2 separate regions of the Homo sapiens genome follow, and region 2 is linked to region 1. The links are contacts of gene promoters, found by promoter capture Hi-C in human tissues and cell types (Jung and others, 2019). All regions are on one chromosome and are shown on one strand. Each heading gives the region's core, a stretch centred on a gene start or on the middle of the fragment in contact. The rest is flanking DNA. Distances are from core to core; before and after follow the strand shown. Region 1 holds the start of C1QA (complement C1q A chain). Region 2 has its middle 3.4 kb from the start of CDC42.

Region 1 (3,152 bases), core at 653-3,152:
AGCTGCTAGCAGAGAGGAGACCCTGGAATGGGAAGCTCCTCTCTGCAGGCAGGTCATCCTGTCGACTTTCCAGCTCTCAGAAGAGGGAAGACCCTGGAATGGGAAGCTCCTTTCTGCAGGCAAGTTGTTCTGCCATCTCTGCAGCTCTCAGCAGAGAGGAGGCCCTGGAGCGGGTAGCTCCTCTCGGCAGCTGGTCATCCAATGTCTGCCCAGCTCTGGCTGAGCCTGAAGCTTTCATGAGCCTCAGAGAGGAGGAAGTGCATACTGATTGGTCCATGGGTGGCTATAGGCAAGCCCAGAAAATACACCATAAGTTCCCACTCTGGTGTGTGGGACTGGCAGCCTGGCCCCCAGCCTTGAGGCCCTCCCTGGCTTGAAGGTAGGGCCTCACCAGGGACCCATCCCCTTCCACCCAGGAGCCTGTCTGTCTCCTGCTGCTGTTCATGGTGCCCAGGCTGTTCATGCCAAGGAGCGTCTGCAGGCCAGTGCCGAGCTGCCCTCAGTTTCCCCTTGGCTTTCCTTCCATGCTAGTCAGTGCCCAAAGTCCAGAGGGGGCCAAGGCAGCAGGGGTCTAGTGTGTCAGCACTGCCCCAAGCATGCCCACACCCAGCCAGGCTGCGACAGCACCCAGGCTCAGCACCAACTTTGCTCTAAGATCAGAGTGGGCGCCAAGAGGAGGGAGAAGCCAGGCAGTGGGAGCAGACACTTCTGAGCCTGAAGGGTGGGGCGGGGGGCCTTCCCGGGCCCCCAAGATTGCAGGGATGCCTGGGTCCACAGCTGCAGTTTAGGCAGCTGCAGCTGCATGGGGGATGGCGGGGGCCCCCACCTGCTCCATGAAGCAGGATCAGCTGTGGTTTGGCAGCTGCAGTGGTTCCCAGGAGGGCGGGGTTCCCACTGTCCCCAGCTCCCACTGGCTACATGGAGCATGCAGCCCTGGCCGTGCCTCCCTGCTGCAGCCAGTGTGATGACAGCAGCCATTCCAGACGGCCCGCCATTGCCATCTCTTTTTTTTTTTTTTTTTTTTGAGATGGGGTCTTGTTCTGTCTCCCAGGCAGGAGTGCAGTGGTAAGATCAAAGCTCACTGCAGCCTCAACCTCCTGGGCTCTAGCAATCCTCCCAGCTCAGCCTCCCAAATAGCTGGGACTACACAGGTGCATGCTACCACACCTGGCTATTTTTTAAATTTTTAGTAGAGATGGAGTTTCACCATGTTGGCCAGGCTGGTCTCGAACTCCTGACCTCAAGTGATCCGCCTGCCTTGACCTCCCAAAATGCTGGGATTACAGGCGTGAGCCAAAGCACCTAGACTTGCTGTTTTTTTAAATGTTGGCAAAAGCTAGTGACTAAGTGTTCACCATGTGCCAAGTGTTTTGTATGTGCAAGTCATTAAAATGTTATAATAATCAGATGATATAGGACCCCGTTCCCAGTGTACAGATAAAACTGAGGGCTCAGGAGGTCAAGTAATTTCCCAAAGACATGCAACTAGGAAGCAGCAAGTCTAGAAACAGATTGCTGTGCTTCCTTCTCACCAATGCACTGTTCTTTCTTCTTTGTATTTTCCAAGCTTTTGGCAATGAATTGCATGTCACTTTCATAATCATGAAAAGTCCTACAAGGGACAGATTTTTTTAAAGATTCCTTCCGCTCTGGTGTTCTGTGCTTCGCTGGTTCTCAGAACCTCACCCTGCACGGCCTCCACCCCACATCCTCACAGGCACTGGCCTCACTGCCCCCACTCCCACACCAGCTGTTGCTGGGGCAGGACGCCCAATGTCCCAGTCTTGCTGAAGTCTGCTTGAAATGTCCCTGGTGAGCTTCTGGCCACTGGGGAAGTTCAGGGGGCAGGTCTGAAGAAGGGGAAGTAGGAAGGGATGTGAAACTTGGCCACAGCCTGGAGCCACTCCTGCTGGGCAGCCCACAGGGTCCCTGGGCGGAGGGCAGGAGCATCCAGTTGGAGTTGACAACAGGAGGCAGGTGAGGCCAGAGTCCCAGAGGGAGGGGGCTGCAGAGTTCTGGGACCCAGGGGAGCTGGCCCAGGAGGCTGGGCAGCTGAGGCAGGGAGGGAGGGAAATAACTGTGCCTGATTCTAGGACAGGGATGGGGGTGCAGCACTGATCCAGGACCCAGAATGGGTGAGTGGAGGGACCTTAACTCCTTGAGCCAGGGCTTGGGGGAGGGTGAGAGGCGATGAGTTAGACCTAACAACTGAAGGGTAAGACCAGGGTTCCTGGGTCCTGGCCCCATAACACATAAGAAACCAGGAAAAGCCTGGGGTGCTAGAGCTGGCAGTGGGACCCAGCAGAGGGGACTGTAGGGGCAGCCAGTCACCCATGCTCAGGTGGATGCTGAAAGGCGCTGAGCATGCAGAAGAGTGAGCAGGTGTCGCTTTGGGCGTTTGTGAATTCCTGTGTGTATGCAGAGCTCCACCATCTGGGTGAGCCAGTGTTAATTAAATAAGGAGCAGGCGCTCAATACATATTTGTTCAATGAAATCGATTACCTGTGGGAGTGTATGAATGTGTGTGTCCGTGCAAGTGAGGGACAGGGTCTATTTGGGTATCAGTTGTGTGTCTAGGGGGGTATAGTGGATTTCTGAGTTTGCCTACTGTGTTTTGTAGGTGCGTGGATGAGAGCTGTGTTTGTGTGAGTGTGTGAAGATGTGGGTGTGCTCTGTTGCATGTGTGGATGTGTGTGAGTTTGTGGTTCTGTGTATATGCGTGGGGTCCTGGGGCTGGATTGAGAGTGGACATTGAGAGCCCCAGAGGGTGCATGTGCACTTGGGGAGGACTGTGCATATATCATTGTGTGCATGGGACTCAAGGGTGGGAGCTGGGTGTGAGTGTGATGTCCAACCTGCCCAGGCCCTCCCGTGTCTCCACAGAGGCATCATGGAGGGTCCCCGGGGATGGCTGGTGCTCTGTGTGCTGGCCATATCGCTGGCCTCTATGGTGACCGAGGACTTGTGCCGAGCACCAGACGGGAAGAAAGGGGAGGCAGGAAGACCTGGCAGACGGGGGCGGCCAGGCCTCAAGGGGGAGCAAGGGGAGCCGGGTAAGCACCCTTCCTCGGGACCCAGCCCCTTGGACCTTGGCCTGACTTGGCCTCCAGGGTGAAGGCTTGGGGTGGCACTGAGAATCAGGAGTCCGTCT
Region 2 (3,152 bases), core at 463-2,962, 590 kb before region 1:
GATTATAGGCATGAGCCACCATGCCTGGACTAAAGCAGAGAGCTTGAAGGGAGCCTCTAGAAATTAGATATGAATTTTGTGGGTATAGGATCTGTGATGCAGAAAAGGTTGAGAACTCCTGGATATACAAGGCTGTAGGGGCCAAAAGCAGACATAGGTGCTTAGACCCTGGAGTAGGTGGGAGCTGGAAGATGATTTTGATGGTGCTGAGTAGCTGGAAATTTGAAAATGGGGGTAGGATGCCGGGCGCGGTGGCTCACGCCTGTAATCCCAGCACTTTGGGAGGCTGAGGCGGGTGGATCGCCTGTAGTCAGGAGTTTGAGACCAGCCTGGCCAACATGGTGAAACCCCATCTCTACTAAAAAATACAAAAATTAGCTGGGCATGGTAGCAGTTGCCTGCAATCCCAGCTACTCGGGAGGCTGAGGCAGGAGAATCACTTGAACCTGGGAGGGGAGGTTGCAGTGAGCTGAGATCGCACCATTGCACTCCAGCCTGGTTGACAGAGTGAGACTCTGTCTCAAAAAAAAAAAAAAAAAAAAAAAAATTGGGGGTGGGAATAGGGGTTGGAAGAGGTATAGATTTGGGAGTTATTACCTAGAGGGTAGGGACAAGTACCTCATGGGCAGACAAGCAGGGCAGGGGTGGCAGTGATTCATCAAGAGTTTGGCAGTCATAAGCAACAGAAACCTACTCAACCTCGTTCAGGCAATAGAGGGAATTTATTGCTAATGTGACTGAAGATTGAAGCAAGACTGGATCTGATGTCTCATGCAATGCCACTGGGACTTGGTTTCATGTCTCCATCTCTCAGTTCTGTTTCCCCCTCTGTCTTGGTCTCATTCTCAGGCAGCATCTCTGCTTGCAGTGGGAAGCTGGCTGCCAGCAGTGCCACGATTACATCCTACTCTCAGCAAACAGAGATTCACTGAACTGAATAGTTGTGACCAAAGTTCCAGAATTAAATCTCATTGGGTCACATGCCTGTTGCTGAAATGGTGTGGCAACAGGGCTCTCTATAATGCTGTGATTGGCCAAGCCTGGGTCACGTGTCCATTCCCGCAACTAGAGATAGTGTCATCTCTAGAGCCACATGGATTGAGAGTTGGGGCAGGGGCTGCTCTAGGAGAAATGGAAGTGCTGTTACCAGAAGGAAGAATGGACACCGGAATGGTAGCCACCGGGAAGGGAGCCGGAGTCCCACAGGCTGTCCCTCCTGTTAACATGAGGCAGCTATAGCAGTGGGGCAGTAGCGGGGAGGCACTAGGAGGCTGGGGGCTGGGCCAGCAGTGAGGGACATGGTAGATTGGGTCAAGTAATAGTAACACCATTGCCACTGCTGTTTGGGGCTGTGAAAAGGTCTAGGAGGGTTCTTCTGACAAAAAACCTGACAACATAAAAGACATAGTGCTAAGTAAGTCCTTGTCCTCAGAATAAAGGCAGGAAAAGCTGAACAGTTGGGTGACACCCCATCAAGATATTGCTGCTACTGGAAAGGGCAGACGTTGTCTGGGGACATTCATGGGATTGTGAGACAGGATGAAGGAAAGGGCACTGCCAGCTGGACTTGTGAAGGGAAGAAACAACCATTTTCCCCTCAAGTTTAAAAAATGAAGCTTATGCATTTTTACAATAGTAATAAATTCACAATAGCCCAAAACAACCCAAATTCCAACAGTAGGAGTCTGGGTAAATATTGCAATGCCCGGAGAGTAAAATGCAGCCTTTACAAATGATGCTTTATTTGACATGGAAAGATGTTCACAATGTAGTTTTTTTGTTTTGTTTTGTTTTTGTATTTTTTGTAGAGATGGGTGGGGGCAGGTCTTGCTATGTTGCCCAGACTGGTCTTGAACTCCTGGGCTCAAGTGATCCACCCGCCTCGGCCTCCCAAAGTGTTAGGATTATAGGTGTGAGCCACATTAGAGGTAGGACTACAGCTGAAGCTTATCTTCCTGTTTTTTTTTTTTAGGTGGGGTTTTGTTCTTGTTGCCCAGGCTAGAGTGCAATGGCGCAATCTCGGCTCACTGCAACCTCTGCCTCCCAGGTTCCAGCGATTCTCCTGTCTCAGCCTCCCGAGTAGCTGCGAATACAAGTGCATGCCACACCCAGCTAATTTTTGTATTTTTAGTAGAGAAAGGGTTTCACCATGTTGGTCAGGCTAGTCTTGAACTCCTGACCTCAAGTGATCCGCCCACCTCGGCCTCCCGGAGTGCTGGAATTACAGGCGTGAGCCACCGCACCTGGCTTTTTTTTTTTTTTTTTTTTGAGACAGAGTTTCACTTTTTTGTCGCCTAGGCTGGAGTGCAATGGCATGATCTCGGGGTCACTGCAACCTCCGCCTCCTGGATTCAAATGATTCTCCTGCCTCAGCCTCCCAAGTAGCTGGGATTACAGGCACCTGCCACCACACCGAGCAAATTTTTGTGTGTGTGTTTTTTAGTACAGATGGGGTTTTACCATGTTGGTCAGGCTGGTCTTCAACTCCTGACCTCAGGTGATCCACCAGCCTCAGCCTCACAAAGTGCTGGGATTACAGATGTGAGCCACTGTGCCTGGCCTGAAGCTTATCTTCTAATTTCTCTATAATAAACCTGCTTGATAGTGTGGTAGTGTCATAGTCAACTAGAGCCAGCCTCCTGAGTGCAAGTCTCAGCTCTGCCACTGCTTGGCATGGCGGCTATGGACAAGTCTCTTAACACCTCTGAGCTTCAGTTCATGTAACCATAAAGTGGGGGTAACAGTTCTTAACTCATAGGGTGGCTGTGAGTATTAAATTAGCTACTACTACCTGCAAAGCTATTAGCCATACCTGCAGTAAACACTAAAAAATGTAGTTCTTATTTTTGGGTAATTAAAAAATCCAAAAGAGGGCTGGGTGCGGTGGCTTACACCTGTAATCGCAGCCCTTTGGGAGGCCAAGGCAGGTGGATCACAAAGTCATGAGTTCAAGACCAGCTTGGCCAATATGGTGAAACCCCGTCTCTACTAAAAATACAAAAATTAGCTGGGCATGGTGGTGGGCACCTGTAGTCTCAGCCACTTGGGAGGCTGAGGCAGGAGAATTGCTTGAACCCGGGAGGCGGAGATTGCAGTGAGCCGAGATCGAACCACTGCATTCCAGCCTGGGTGACAGAGCGAGACTCCGTCTC

What was found. Contacts are between HindIII fragments. The study calls those that stand out against the background at their distance.
Region 2: a contact is called between a fragment that was not itself captured here and the fragment with the promoter of C1QA in region 1, in 3 of the 25 tissues and cell types used here (adrenal gland, dorsolateral prefrontal cortex and mesenchymal stem cells).

The regions. Positions count from the first base shown.
Region 1 is chr1:22,634,726-22,637,877 of GRCh38, forward strand. C1QA (complement C1q A chain) reads left to right here and starts at 1,903. Exons shown (of 3, transcript NM_015991.4): 1 at 1,903-1,977; 2 at 2,885-3,054. The coding sequence starts at 2,892. The HindIII fragment of the contact is 11,741 bases long and covers 900-3,152 here.
Region 2 is chr1:22,047,768-22,050,919 of GRCh38, forward strand. No RefSeq gene overlaps it. Among named protein-coding and RNA genes, the nearest start is that of CDC42, 3.4 kb to the right of the region's middle. The HindIII fragment of the contact is 4,522 bases long and covers 1-3,152 here.